Linked DNA regions of Homo sapiens: region 2 is linked to region 1. Evidence: promoter capture Hi-C in 16 types of primary human blood cells and fetal thymus (Javierre and others, 2016). All regions are on one chromosome and are shown on one strand. Each heading gives the region's core, a stretch centred on a gene start or on the middle of the fragment in contact. The rest is flanking DNA. Distances are from core to core; before and after follow the strand shown. Region 1 holds the start of ZBTB46-AS1 (ZBTB46 antisense RNA 1). Region 2 has its middle 6.2 kb from the start of HELZ2.

Region 1 (7,214 bases), core at 1,642-4,141:
GTGAGGAAAGAGAGTGGAGCCTGGACGCCAGCTGGTGCTCTCCGGCTCTGCTGCTGGAGCTCCTCGTAGGAGTGAGGAAAGAGAAACGTAGATTGCTCTCATGTTCGCGCTCTGTTCACCTCCTGGGTGCTGATTTCCTGTGGCGTCATCCTACCCTGCATCTGTGCTGGTGGGCACGTTCTCGCGTTTGTGTTTTATTTTTATTTATTTTTTTGTTTTTTGAGACAGAGTCTCACTCTGTTGCCCAGACTGGAGTGCAGTGGCACAATTTTGGCTCACTGTAACCTCTGCCTCCCATGTTCAAACGATTCTCCTGCCTCTGCCTCCCTAGTAGCTGGGATTATAGGTGCGTGCCACCACGCCCAGCTAATTTTAATATTTTTAGTAAAGACAGAGTTTCGTTATGTAGGCCAGGACGGTCTCAAACTCCTGATCTCATATGATCCACCTGTCTCAGCCTCCCAAAGTGCTAGGATTACATTTGTGTTTTATGAATAAGGACCTTGGTTTGCGAGGGGAAGGGGGGTTTTGGTGCCTATCCTGAGTGTGGTCGGTGTGTGTGAGCTTGTGCAGACACGACCAGCTGGGCTTTCTGTTCTCATTTCTTCCCGTTAATTTCTGATAAACTTCTAAGCATCCACGTGACTGGCATTTTTAATGTTCCTGGAATTGGGTTTTGCTCAGTTTTAATACTTGACGGTTTTCTGGGCCATCTTCGAATTGTCGAGTGTTTGGGTCTTTTTCTGTTTGTCACTGTTAGCCATAGCAGTGCTTGGAACATCTTGGAACCAATTAGCTTTTTGGGTTATTTCCTTGGGGCAGAGTCTCAGAAGTGGAATTAGTCAAAGAGGCAGAGGCATCTGTAGGCCTCATCCCCACGCTGCAGGCTGCTTCAAGGGCCGCCCCACTCTGGGCCTCCTGTGTCACGGCCACCTTTGTAATTGACATTACGTTAATGTTTGCCAGTTCCATGTATTTAGAGTTTTCTTTTCTTTTTTTTTTTTTGAGAGAGGGCCTTGCTGTGTCACCCATGCCGGAGTACAGTGGTGCCATCTTGGCTCACTCCAACCTCGACCTCCCGACTCAAGGGATCCTCCCACTTCATCCTCCAGAGTCGCGGGGACTACAGGTGTGCACCACCATGCCCGGCTAATTTTTTCTATTTTTTGTAGAGATGGGGTCTCACCATGTTGCCCAGGCTGGTCTTGAACTTTTGGGCTCAAGCCATCTGCTCGCCCCGGCTTCCCTCAGCGTTGGGATTTCAGGCATGAGCCACCATTCTGGCCTGGCCTTGAAATCTTTTCTCAGAGTTAAGCACGTGTCTTTTAAGTCCTTTCCAGAAATCTTTAAAATTGTATCATTGAGTTAAGCCACACTGGCCACCACACGGCTAACTTCGTAAGGGAGAAGAGGGGAGAGGAAGGGAGGTCGCGGAGCTCCTGCTGTCTCCCGGAGTCCTCTCCACCTGCTGGGCTCTGGCAGGTTTGCTGAGGACCGCGTGAGGGCGCTGCTGTCTTCTGGGCTCAGGGCTCCTGTGAGCTCCTGAGGCCTGGACCCAGGGGTGGCCTTTGTTGCTCCCTTGGGCATAATATGGGGGGACACAGGCAAGATGTGGGGCCACCACCCCAGCAGGCCTGTGCCGAACCCCAGGACCCCATTCCTGGAATAGACGCGGCCATGAGGACTGGACGCGCTGGGCGTGGCCCACGGCGGGGCCCCCAGGGCTGCGCCCCCAGGGCTGCTGACCTTGCCCCCCTTGGCTCCACCGAGTCTGCACCTTTAGTGCCCACTTCGGCCAAGCCCATGGCGAAGTGCCCCAGGCGCTGCGGTCCCTGCGAAGGGGAACGTGGAAGGCGAACGTGGAGAGCCCCTTGAGTGCCTCTGCAGCACCGGAGCACCGAGCCGCCAGCTCCCAGGTCTTACCTCATGAATCATGGAGTTTTCTTTCTTTTTTTTTTTTCTTTTTCTTTTTTTTTTTTTTTTTTTTTTTGAAGCGGAGTCTCGCTCTGCCGCCCAGGCTGGAGTGCAGTGGCGCCATCTCGGCTCACCGCAAGCTCCGCCCCCCGGGTTCCCGCCATTCTCCTGCCTCAGCCTCCCGAGTAGCTGGGACTGCAGGCGCCCCCACCACGCCCGGCTAATTTTTTTTTGTATTTTTTAGTAGAGACGGGGTTTCACCATGTTAGCCAGGATGGTCTTGATCTCCTGACCTCACCATCCGCCCGCCTCGGCCTCCCAAAGTGCTGGGATTACAGGCGTGAGCCACCGCGCCTGCTGGTTTTATTTCTTAAGGCGGCCTTGGCGCCTGTCCTGGCCGAGCGCTGGACCGAGGAGGGCCTTCTCTGGGGGAGGCTCTGTCCGCCTCCCACCCACGCTGGAGGAGCTCAGGTCTCATGGGGAGGCAGGACTCGCTTAGGGGCGGGAGGTCACACTGCCCCGGAGCCCAGGCCCTGCCCTAGGAGGAAGAGCCTGGCTTCCCCCTTCCCTCCCGCCGGGCCCGGGGCTGAGACTCCTTGTGGGTCCGGATGACCCTGTCCGTGACCTCCGCCCTGGCCCCGCTTCCGCCCCACGCCCCCCTGAAGCCCCGGGCTCCGTGGCGTCTGCCTTCCGGGCCCTCCCCTGCGCTCAGCCCCCGGGGCAAGGGCTGGGAAGGATGGCTTGACTGGCCTACAGGGTACAGGGGACCCCTGACAGGTTCATCGCTGGGGCCCCATGGGCCCCCCCTCCGTCTGTGCCGTGCGGATGTGGAGACTGAGGACTCCTCCATCGAAGGCGGCCGGTGGTGAAATCCAGTAATCTGGGTGGGGTCCTTACCGCGCTGTCCGCGGGGTTTCCTCACTGCTCAGGCGGCTGCTGCTCATCCACGCCACCTCCGTCGGTCCGTTCAGCTTCCGTGAGTGTCCCCTGTGGGAAGGTCCGTTCAGCTTCCGTGAGTGTCCCCTGTGGGAAGGTCCGTTCAGCTTCCGTGAGTGTCCCCTGTGGGAAGGTCCGTTCAGCTTCCGTGAGTGTCTCCTGTGGGAAGGTCCGTTCAGCTTCCGTGAGTGTCCCCTGTGGGAAGGGCCTGTGCCGCACAAGGTGGGGACTTGGGCACACGGCCTCGGAGGCCAGACACCGGGCGAGCCCCGCTCTGGGAGTGAGACCCGCTCGGAGGGGGAGCGAGCCCTGAGGCGCCGCCTGTAAGCCAGACCCGCTGCCTCACACAGACGGGTGCTTCGCTTGTTTTGGCCTAGTACAGCTTTTAAGCAAAAAGTAACTGGTTAGGGATTCTATCATATTGCTTGATGTAAACAAATGCGGCAAAATGTTAAAAAATGGAGTAGCTGAAGGCCGGGCGCGGTGGCTCACACCTGTAGTCCCAACACTTTGGGAGGCCGAGGCGGGCAGATTGCTTGAGGCCAGGAGTTCGAGACCAGCCTGGCCAACATGGTGAAACCCCGTTCCTACTAAAAATGCAAAAATTAGCCAGGTATGCTGGCGTGCGCCTGTAGTCCGAGATACTGGGGAGGCTGAGGTGGGAGAATCACTCGAACTCGGGAGGTAGAAGTTGCAGTGAGCCAAGATGGCGCCACTGCACTCCAGCCTGGGTGACAGAGCGAGACCAAACTGACTCAAGAAGAAACAGAAAATCTGAATAGACCTATAACAAATAAAGAATCAGTAGTCAAAAAACTTCCAATGAAAGAAAAGTTCAGAAACTTTCACTACAGTTATTGTACTTTTTAGCTTCCAAAAAGAAAAGTCAATTTCAATAAAGAAATTGAATCAATAGTCAATAAACTTCCAACAAAAGAAAAGTCCATCTCTGTCTCTCTCTATATATGTATATGATTGTATATATCACTTCACTGTTGAATTCTATCAAACATTTTAAGAATTAACACCAATCCTGGCCAGGCGTGGTGGCTCACGCCTGTAATCCCAGCACTTTGGGAGGCCGAGGCAGGTGCATCATGAGGTCAGGAGATCGCGACTATCCTGGCTAACACGGTGAAACCCCGTCTCTACTAAAAATACAAAAAATTAGCCGGGTGTGGTGGCGGGCGCTGGTAGTCCCAGCTACTCAGGAGGCTGAGGCAGGAGAATGGCGTGAACCTGGGAGGCGGAGCTTGCAGTGAGCCGAGATGGCGCCACTGCACTCCATCCTGGCCGACAGAGCGAGACTCCATCTCAAAAAAAAAAACCAAAACAAAACAATTAGCTGGGCGTGGTGGTGGGCGCCTGTAGTCCCAGCTACATGGGAGGCTGAGGCAGGAGAATCGCTTGAACGTGGGAGGTGGAGGTTTTAGTGAGCCAAGGTCGCACCGTTGCACTCCAGCCTGGGTGACAGAGCCAGATTCCATCTCAAAAAAAGAGAAAGATTCCATCATATTCCTTGAGAGCATAGTGTTGCCTTTATTTTAAGCAGGTATTACAACCTTCTTATTTAGGTTCTATTTTTTTTGAAGTTACCATTTCAGGTCAGAGTTAGCCATAGCAGTATCTCAGATTTAAAATGTACACAAATAGTTTTCTTGCCTTGTTAAGCTGATTAGCTTTCTTTTCTTTCTTTTTTTTTTTTTTTTGAGATGGAGTTTCACTGTTGTTGCCTGGGCTGGAGTGCAGTGATATGTTCTCGGCTCACTGCAACCTCTGCCTCTCGGGTTCAAGCAATTTTCCTGCATCAGCCTCCCGAGTAGCTGGGATTACAGGCACCCGTCACCATGCCAGGCTAATTTTTTTTTTTAACTTTTAGTAGAGACGGGGTTTCACTATGTTGGCCAGGTTGGTCTCGAACTCCTGACCTCAGGTGATCCGCTCGTCTCAGCCTCCCAAAATGCTGGGATTACAGGCGTGAGCCACCTTTCCCAGCCAGCTGATTAGCTTTCTGAGAAAATTATAATATTTTTAAAAGTTGGGGCCGGGCATGGTGGCTCATGCGTGTAATCCCAGCACTTTGGGAGGCGGAGGCGGGTAGAGCACCTGAGGTCAGGAGTTCGAGACCAACCTGGCCAACATGGTGAAACCCTGTCTGTACTAAAAATACAAAAAAATTATCCGGGTGTGGTGGCACACACCTATAATCCCAGCTACTGGGGAGGCCGAGGCACGAGAATCACTTGAACCCAGGAGGCGGAGGTTGCAGTGAGCCGAAGGCTTCAGTGAGCCGAGATCGTGCCACTGCCCTCCAGCCTGGGCGACAGAGCGAGACTCCGTCTCAAAAAAAAGGAAAAAAAAAAAAAAGCTGATGCATGGCTTTGTGTATTAGTTTCCTGGGGCTGCTGTGAAAGTACCACCTGCTGGGCAGCTCGCGGCAGCAGAGGTGTCTCCTCTCAGTTCCAGAGTCCAGCGCTGGAACTCAGGGTGTCTCAGGGCCATGCTCCCTCTGGAGACTCCAGGCAGGGTCCTTCCTGCCTCTTCCAGCTCCTGGTGGCTCCAGGCATCCTTTGGCTTGTGACTTTGTCACTCCAGTTTCTGCCTGTGGTCACATGACCTTCTCTCCTCCCTGTGTCTTTTTTTTTCCTTTAGAGATGGGGGTCTTGCTCTGTCACTCCAGCTAGAGCACAGTGGTGCAATCGGAGCTCACTGACTGCAGCCTGCAACTCCTGGGCTCAAGTGATTCTGCCGCCTCAGCCTCTCAACGTGCTGCGATTAGAGGTGTGTACCACACTGCCCGGCTGCTGTTTCATTTTACCTTCTATCAGCACTTAGTATGAGACATTTTTGAAATACTGTAAATCAGTATTACAGATTTAATTTTCAAAAGGTACTGTAGGTCGGGCGTGGTGGCTCATGCCTGTAATCCCAGCACTTTGGGAGGCCGAGGTGGGCGGATCACGAGGTCAAGAGATCGAGACCATCCTGGCCAACGTGGTGAAACCCCGTCTCTACTAAAAATACAAAAATTAGCCAGGCATGGTGGTGTGAGCCTGTAATGTCAGCTACTCAGGAGGCTGAGGCAGGAGAATCAATTGAACCCGGGAGGTGGAGGTTGCAGTGAGCTGAGATCGTGTCACTGCACTCCAACCTGGCAACAGAGCGAGACTCCTTCTGAGAAAAAAAAAAAAAAGTCATGTAGGTTTTTTTTGTTGTTGTTTTTTTGAGACGGAGTCTCACTATGTTGCCCAGGCTGGAGTGCAGTGGTGCCAACTCAGCTCACTGCAACCTCCGCCTCCCAGGTTATAGCGATTCTCCTGCCTCAGCCTCCCGAGTAGCTGGGACTACAGGCGCCCCCCACCACGCCTGGCTAATTTTTTTAATTTTGGTAGAGACGGGGTTTCACCATGTTGGCCAGGCTGGTCTCGATCTCTTGACCTGGTGATCCACCTGCCTTGGCCTCCCAAAGTGCTGGGATTACAGGCGTGAGCCACCGTGCCCGGCCTGGTACTGTAGTTTTGTTGACCCCAAGTGTATGTGTTGGGCCTGTCCAGCATTGAGATGTGGTCCCTGGGCTGAGAGGAGGGCAGGGCAGTGTCAGGCAGCGAGGTGGCATGTGTGCTGTCAGTGTAAGAACAGTGACGCCCGGGAGGGCTTCCTGGAGGAGGGGGAGGCTGTGTCCATTGGCTGAGAGGGCTCAGGACTGCTGTTGTGATTCATGGCAGGATTCGCCTTTACAGATCTGACCTGTTCCACTGTGTCATCTATAACCCAAATGACAGACTAGGAGCTCAGCTGCCCCGGCCCCCTCCTGGGTGCCCAGAGCACCTTGTGCCCATCTGGAGGCACCCCTGCCACCCTCACACATGGCCCGAGCCAGGCACTGCTCCAGGCTTCCCCTGCGTGTGACTGGTGGGCACCTGGCTGGAGCTGGAGGGATGCTGAGGCCTGGAGCTGCTGAGGTGGGAGTGGAAGCCCCTCCATTCAGGGACCCCACAGCCCACCGAGACCCTGGTGGCTGGGGCTGAGATGGGACAGCGCAGGGCAGTGAGAGGTGTTTGGAAAGGGGAAGCGTGCTGGGCTCTGGCTGGGGACGCCCGACAGAAGGAAGTGACGTTATGTCGGTGCAGTGGCTCACGCCTATCATCCCAGCGCTTTGAGAAGCCAGGGCGGCAGGTTCGTTTAGGAATTCAAGACCAACCTGGGCAACACGACAGAACCCCGTCTCTACAAAACAAAAAAATTAGCCCGTGTGGTGGCGTGCCCCTGTGGTCCCAGCTGCTCAGGAGGCTGATGTGGGAGGATGCCTTGAGCCTGGGAGGTTGAGGCTGCAGTGAGCCGAGATTGCGCCACTGCACTCCAGC
Region 2 (7,223 bases), core at 3,983-6,482, 230 kb after region 1:
TCTGCTCAGTGCAACCTCTTGTTTCCCAGGTTCAAGCGATTCTCCTTCCTCAGTCCCCCGAGTAGCTGGGATTAAAGGCTTGAGCCACCATGCCTGGCTAAGTTTTTGTATTTTTAGTAGAGATGGGGTTTTGCCATGTTGCCCAGGCTGGCCTTGAACTCCTGAGCTCAGGCAATCTGCCTGCCTTGGCCTCCCAAAGTGCTGGGATTACAGGCATGAGCCACCGTGCCCGGCCTATTTTATTTATTTATTTTTGAGACGGAGTCTTGCTCTGTCATCCAGGCTGGAGTGCAGTGGCGCGATCTCAGCTCACTGCAACCTCTGCCTCCTGGGTTCAAGCAATTCTCCTGCCTCAACCTCCCGAGTAGAGTAGCTGGGACTACAGGCACGCACCACCATGTCTGGCTAATTTTTGTATTTTTAGTAGAGATGGGGTTTCACCATGTTGGCCAGGCTGGTCTTGAACTCCTGCCCTCAAGTGATCCGCCCACCTCAGCCTCTCAAAGTGCTGGGATGACAGGCCACTGCGCCCAGCCTTGGATGAGTTTTAAGCAATACAGACACATGTACCTGCTGCCTGCACCAGGCAGAGGACACTCCCCTTGTTCCCTTCTCTAGTCGGGCCTGTCCTCACAGTCACTGACCTGGTTTTTAGAATTCGTCTGTTCCTGAGCTTCATAGAAACGGAACCGCACATTTAATACTCGTCTGTGTTTGGCCTCTTTCACTGAACTGTTTCTGAGATTCCTCCATGCTTCTGTGTGGGTCGGACGTGTTCGGTTTTGGTTTTGTCTGAGTAGTGTTGTGTCGTACAGACGTTCCACGGTTTGTTTATTCAGCCGCCTGGTGATACGCATTGGAGCTGTTTTCAGTCTGGGGCTGCTGGGAATGGGGCTGCTGTGAACCGGCGGGTGTCTCTGTGTGGGCGTCAGCACGCTGGCCCCAGCAGGAGGGGCTCCCTGGCCCAGGCGTTGTGAAGAATGAAGATCCTTTTTTCATTTCTCTTGGGTAGATTTGCAGGAGTCGAACTGCTGGATCCTGAGACAGATGTTCATTTAACTGTATCGGAAATGACCGAGCTGTTTTCCAAGGTGGCTGTGCCGTCTTGTATCCCCACCAGCACCAACGGGAGCGGTGGCTGCTCCGCACCCTCCGCGGCACGAGCCGTCCTCACTCTGGACGCAGTCGGTCTGCCCGTGTGAGGTGGTTTCTCGCTGGGTCCCATTTGCGTGTCCCAGTGACTGGATGGTAAGCACCTTCTCACGTGCTTTTGGTCATTTGTATATGTTCTTGTGTGGAGTGTCTGTTCAAATATTTTGTTTGTTTTTAAAAACTGGACTTTTGAGTTTTGAGATTAAAAAAAATCTGCCTTCTAGGAGTGGTGGCTCACCCCTGTAGTCCCAACACTTTGGGAGGCCGAGGCAGGAGGATCACTTGAGGCCAGGAGTTCAAGATCAGCCTGGGCAACATAGTGAGACCCCATCTCTACAAAAAATTTTAAAATTAGCTGAGGGTGTTGGTGCATGCCTGGAGTCCCAGCTACTTGGGACGCTGAGGTCGGAGGATTGTCTGAGCCCGGAGTTCAAGGCTGCAGTGAGCTGTGATCACACCTCTGCGCTCCAGCCTGGGCAATAGAGCAAGACCGTCTCAAAGCATAATAATAATAACAAAGATAAAAACATTTTCAGTTTGCATATAGTTCATCAGATATGTGTATTTTGAATATTTTTGTCTCAACTAATAGCTTGACTTTTCATTTTTCTCACTGGTACAGACATTTTTTACTTATATAACCTTGTTTATCAATTTTTTTCTCTTATATTTCTACCTTTTATGTCTTTTTAAAGAAATATATGCCGGCTGGGTGCGGTAGCTCACGCCTGTAGTCCCAGCACTTTGGGAGGCCTAGGCGGGTGGATCACGAGGTCAGGGTCAGGAGACCAAGACCATCCTGGCTAACATGGTGAAACCCCGTCTCTACTAAAAATACAAAAAATCAGCTGGGCGTGGTGGTGGGCGCCTGTAGTCCCAGCTACTCGGGAGGCTGAGGCAGGAGAATGGCATCAACCCGGGAGGCAGAGCTTGCAGTGAGCCAAAATCACGCCACTGCACTCCAGCCTGGGCGACAGAGCAAGACTGTCTCAAAAAAAAAAAAAAGAAAAGAAAAGAAAAAAATATATGCCTATCCCAAGGTTGTGAAGATTTCTCCTGTTTTCTTCTAGAAGCGTTACAGTTTAGCTTTGATGCTTAGATGTTCCATCTTGAATTAAATTTTGTGTGCAATGCGAGGTGGGGCTGAGCTTCGTTTTTCCCGAAACTTTACTCCGTGTTCCAGCTGCCACTTGTTGAAGACTGTCCTTTCCCCGCCTCAGGCCCTTCGGGGACCAACAGACCGCAGACCTGGGTCTGACCCAGGCTCCCTTCTGTCCTGTCTTGTCTCTCCCGACATCTGCAGTAACGTTCTGGACTTGAACTTCTGGGCGTCAGGAGCAAGCCACATTCCTGTATGTCCAGGGAGAAGAGGGGAGACCGGAAGGCTGGGTGGAAAGGCCCAGGTTTTGGCTCCCTCCTCCAGGGCAGCCAGGCTGGGCACAGCTGCCCCACGGGGCGCACAGGCACCTGGCTCTGTGTCAACCAGATGCCCAGAGCAGCCCCAGGGCAGGCCCACACCCACTCCAGACCCCAACATCTCCAGCCCCAGCAGGAGTGTGGCCCCTCCCCCTGTCATCCCGGAGAGGCGGCCACATGGCAGAGGGACACTGGGGGCCAGTGAGGACTAGGAAGGTCCCTGCCAGGAGACCTCAGGGATATCTGATCAAGCCTCAAGCTTTGGGGGTGCTGTGGGGGCAAGCAGAGAAAGGCACAGCCCCTGGCCAGGCTCTCTGTTGCCCCTGGGAGGCCTTTTAGATCCTGCAACACCTACCCCATGCCTCCTGCTCAGGGCCTGGCCTGAGGGCTCCAGCAGGCTTCAGTGTGGGGGAGAGGTGAGCAGGGGCTGAGAAGGTGGCTCATCACCTCTAATGATGTCAGAAAACTAGGCTGTTTCTCCTGCACTCTCACAGCACAGCTCACTGCTGACACCAGGTGGGGGTTCTGTTCCAACAACAGATTAGTCAGTTTTGCAGCCGACGCCGGCTGGGCGTGCTCCAGTTTAATTCCGATACCATCTACCTGAAGACACCATCTACCTAGAGACGTCTACTTGGAGCCATTGTCTGCTGCCCTGTGCCGTCCGCTATCACCCGAACCCTGCGGGAAAACCCACACACCCTCCCCAGCATCACAGTGCAGGTGGAGGTCCCCAGGGCTTAGGGCCAGGCCTCAGTTTACCTGTGACTGTGGGCCATGTGCTCTCGGGCAGGAACTGACGGCCTCTGGGTATAACTCACTTAAGCAGGTCTTTAACACCCAGTTCCCATCTTTCCAGAGACCCTCCCGGGCGCCCTCCCACCAGCCAAAAGCTCACACCTTGAGTGGAGGAGGTGATAGGGTCTGCAGTGGGAGGGATTCCAGATCAACCTGGAGACATTGTCCACCCATAGACACCATCATCTACCTGGAGACATTGTTGTCAACCTGGAGACACCATCAATTCATAGACATTGTTGTCAACCTGGAGACATTATTGTTAACCTGGAGACACCATCAATTCATAGACATTGTTGTCAACCTGGAGACACCATCAATTTATAGACATTGTTGTTAACCTGGAGACATTGTTGTCAACCTGGAGACACCATCAATTCATAGACGTTGTTGTCTACCTGGAGACATTATTGTTAACCTGGAGACACCATCTATTCATAGGCATTGTTGTCAACCTGGAGACACCGTCTATTCATAGACATTGTTGTTAACCTGGAAACATTGTTGTCAACCTGGAGACACCATCAATTCATAGACATTGTTGTCTACCTGGAGACACCGTCTTTTCATAGACATTGTTGTTAACCTGGAGACATTGTTGTCTACCTGGAGACACTGTTGTCAACCTGGAGACACCATCAATTCATAGACATTGTTGTCAACCTGGAGACACCATCAATTCATAGACATTGTTGTCTACCTGGAGACATTGTTGTTAACCTGGAGACATTGTTGTTAACCTGGAGACACCGTCAATTCATAGACGTTGTTGTCTACCTGGAGACACCATCTAGCTGGAGACGCCATCTGTCCTTAGACATCCTCATCTACCTGGAGATGTCCACACAAGGCTGCTGCCCACTCCCCATGCCAATCTCAAGCCCCGGGTGCTTCAGACCAATTGGCTATAAATTGAGGTTCCTAACCCCCATATTTGGGTCAGATTAATTTCCTAGAGCAGCTCACAGAACTCAGGGAAACATGTTTACCCATTTATTATAAAGGACGTTACAAAGGACGCAGATGAAGAGATGCGTAAGGGGAGGGGCGCAGAGCTTTCACCCCACAAGGGCACCCCGTCCAGGAACCTCCACGGCTCTCTGAGCCCTGTCCTTTTGCGACTTCATGGAGGCTTCATTACCCAGGCATGATTGATTACGTCACTGGCCACTGGTGAGGACCGCCTTCAGCCGCCTCTCCCCTCCCCTGCCTGGAGGTTGGGGCAAGGCTGCAAGTACCACCCTCTACTCCTGCTGAGGCCTTTCTGAGGACCAGCCCCATCCTGAGGCTGCCTCCAGGCTGCCAGCCTTCGGTCAATATCAGCACAAAAAGGCACTTGCCACTTTGGCTACTCCAGGGATTTTAGGGGTTTTTGCCAGGAAACGGGACGAGACCAAATATGTTAATGTATATTTCACAATGTCACACGCACATGGCTGTGTGTGCAGAGGCCAGGCAGGGAGAGAGGACAGAGCAGCTGGGAGGCCCCGGGGGGCGTAGACCCATCCTGGGACTAAACCCCCATCAGATCCTTCTGGCACCCCTGCAAGGAGAAGGTGTGGTCCCCCTGACTTTCTCCCCAGGGGCTCATCTCGAAGGAGGCCTCCCGGCTGCACGGCTCCCACAAGGCCAAGAGGAGGAGATCTGAAATCGGCTCCACTCCCTCCCACTGCAGACCCTATCACCTCCTCCACTAGGGGTGTGAGCTTTTGGCTGGTGGGAGGGCGCCCGGGAGGGTCTCTGGAAAGATGGGAACCGGGTGTTAAAGACCTGCTTAAGCGAGTTATACCCAGAGGCCGTCAGTTCCTGCCCGAGAGCACATGGCCCACAGTCACAGGTAAACTGAGGCCTGGCCCTAAGCCCTGGGGACCTCCACCTGCTTCGTGACGCTGGGGACAGTGTGTACGTTTTCCTGCAGGGTTCAGGTGATGGCAGACGGCAGAGGGCAGCAGACGGCAGGCTGGCACTGGGGGGCCATGGAACCCACTGGCAGGGACGCTGGGTGAGGAGGACCTAGGGACCGGGATGAGACAAGCTGAGGGTGTTGGGCAGACATTTCTTACTTTGTATTTTGATATAATAATTTAAACAAACGTACACAAATGTTGCAAAAATAGAACAAAGGACTCCCTGTGCTCTATGCGGACTCACCAGTCGCTTTGTTCTGGCCCATTTGCCGGTTCTGTAGAAGCCTGTAGTTCCAGGCAATTGAGACTAAGACACGATACCCCTTCACCTTTCAGATACGATACCCCTTCACCCTTCACCCTTCACCCTTTACCCCATCACTTCAAGGTGTGTTTCCTCAGAACGTGGAAGCTGTCTGTTACAAAGTCAGGAAGCTGACGTGGATACAATAATATTACTAATACTCAGCCCGTGTGAGCGTGTTGTTGGCCGTGTGCTGTGTGTACGTGGAACTCTCTCCCGTGGTCTCACACTCAGCCCGTGTGAGCGTGTTGTTGGCCGTGTGCTGTGTGTACGTGGAACTCTGTCCCGTGGTCTCACACTCAGCCCGTGTGAGCGTGTTGTTGGCCGTGTGCTGTGTGTACGTGGAACTCTGTCCCGTGGTGTCACACTCAGCCCGTGTGAGCGTGTTGGCCGTGTGCTGTGTGTACGTGGAACTCTCTCCCGTGGTCTCACACTCAGCCCGTGTTAGGGGTCACTGTGGCCTGAGCACAGCTGGACGGGAGCCAGAGAGCTGTCCACGGCAACCTGCAGGTTTTCAATGCTCTGTGGACTCGAGGTGGCACTTTTTGTTTTTGTTTTGAGTTAAGAAGACGTGCACAGATGTGAAAGGTGGGCGGAAACAGGACATCTCCCTCCTGTCCTGGCCGCACAGTCCTGATCTGTCTCCCAGGCTGGAGTGCACTGGCACCATCACAGCTTACTGAGGTCTTGAACTCCTGGGCTCAAGTGATCCTCCCGCCTCAGCCTACCAAATTGCTGGGATCACAGGTGTGAGCCACCGTGCCTGGCCAACCTCATTTTTAATGGCCTTAGAGTCTTCCATGGCACAGGGTGGAGACTGCCCATTACATAGACCCTGAGCGAGGGGCCCTGGGCATTCCCGGTCCATTGGGTGTAGAAGGAGCTGCCGGGAGCTGTTGGTGGGCACAGATGTCCCTCTGTGCAGGAGCCTCTGTGGAGCCACGTGGAAGGCGCGTGTCCTGTGCTCCCGGGCCTGGCTGGTTTCCAGAGCGGTGCTGCCAGTTTAGACTCTGGCCGAGTGCCTGCAATGTCAGAGGGGTGGACGGGTTGTCTGGGGCTGGTTTGCGTTTCCCTTACGCCGAGGTTGAACACTTCACTCCATTTACAGCAATTTCACTTTCCACGTTTTGTGAAGTATTGATTTGCATCCTTTGCCTATTTTTCTTTTAAATTATACATCTTTTTCTTAATTTATAAGATCTTTAAAATATTAGAGAGATCAGGGCCAGGCGCGGTGGCTCACGCCTGTAATCTCAGCACTTTGGGAGGCCGAGGTGGGTGGATCACGAGGTCAGGAGATCGAGACCATCCTAGCTAACACGGTGAAACCCCGTCTCTACTAAAAATGCAAAAAATTAGCCAGGCGTGGTGGTGGGCGCCTGTAGTCCCAGCTACTTGGGAGACTGAGGCAGGAGAATGGCGTGAACCCGGGAGGTGGAGCTTGCCGAGATTGTGCCACTGCACTCCAGCCTGGGTGACAAGAGTGAGACTCCGTCTCAAGAAAAAAAAATATATATCAGAGCGATCAGACTTTTCACTGTGACATAAGCTGCAATTTTGTTTTCTGTTCATGTTTGGTTTTTGACTCCTTTGATGGTGGTGTTTTTTTCCATGTGAAATTGTTTTGTGTCATTGAATTTATCACT

The links. The method cuts DNA at HindIII sites, captures the fragments that hold promoters and counts their contacts. A CHiCAGO score of 5 or more calls a contact.
Region 2: a contact is called between a fragment that was not itself captured here and the fragment with the promoter of ZBTB46-AS1 in region 1, in 1 of 17 cell types (M2 macrophages). The highest score is 5.2, in M2 macrophages.

Annotation. Positions count from the first base shown.
Region 1 is chr20:63,803,753-63,810,966 of GRCh38, reverse strand. ZBTB46-AS1 (ZBTB46 antisense RNA 1) reads right to left here and starts at 2,891. Exons shown (of 3, transcript NR_110081.1): 1 at 2,812-2,891. The region is part of intron 1 of ZBTB46 (zinc finger and BTB domain containing 46); the gene reads left to right. The HindIII fragment of the contact is 29,160 bases long and covers 1-7,214 here.
Region 2 is chr20:63,576,812-63,584,034 of GRCh38, reverse strand. No RefSeq gene overlaps it. Among named protein-coding and RNA genes, the nearest start is that of HELZ2, 6.2 kb to the right of the region's middle. RefSeq lists enhancers at 441-941, 942-1,442, 2,726-2,905. The HindIII fragment of the contact is 4,805 bases long and covers 2,830-7,223 here.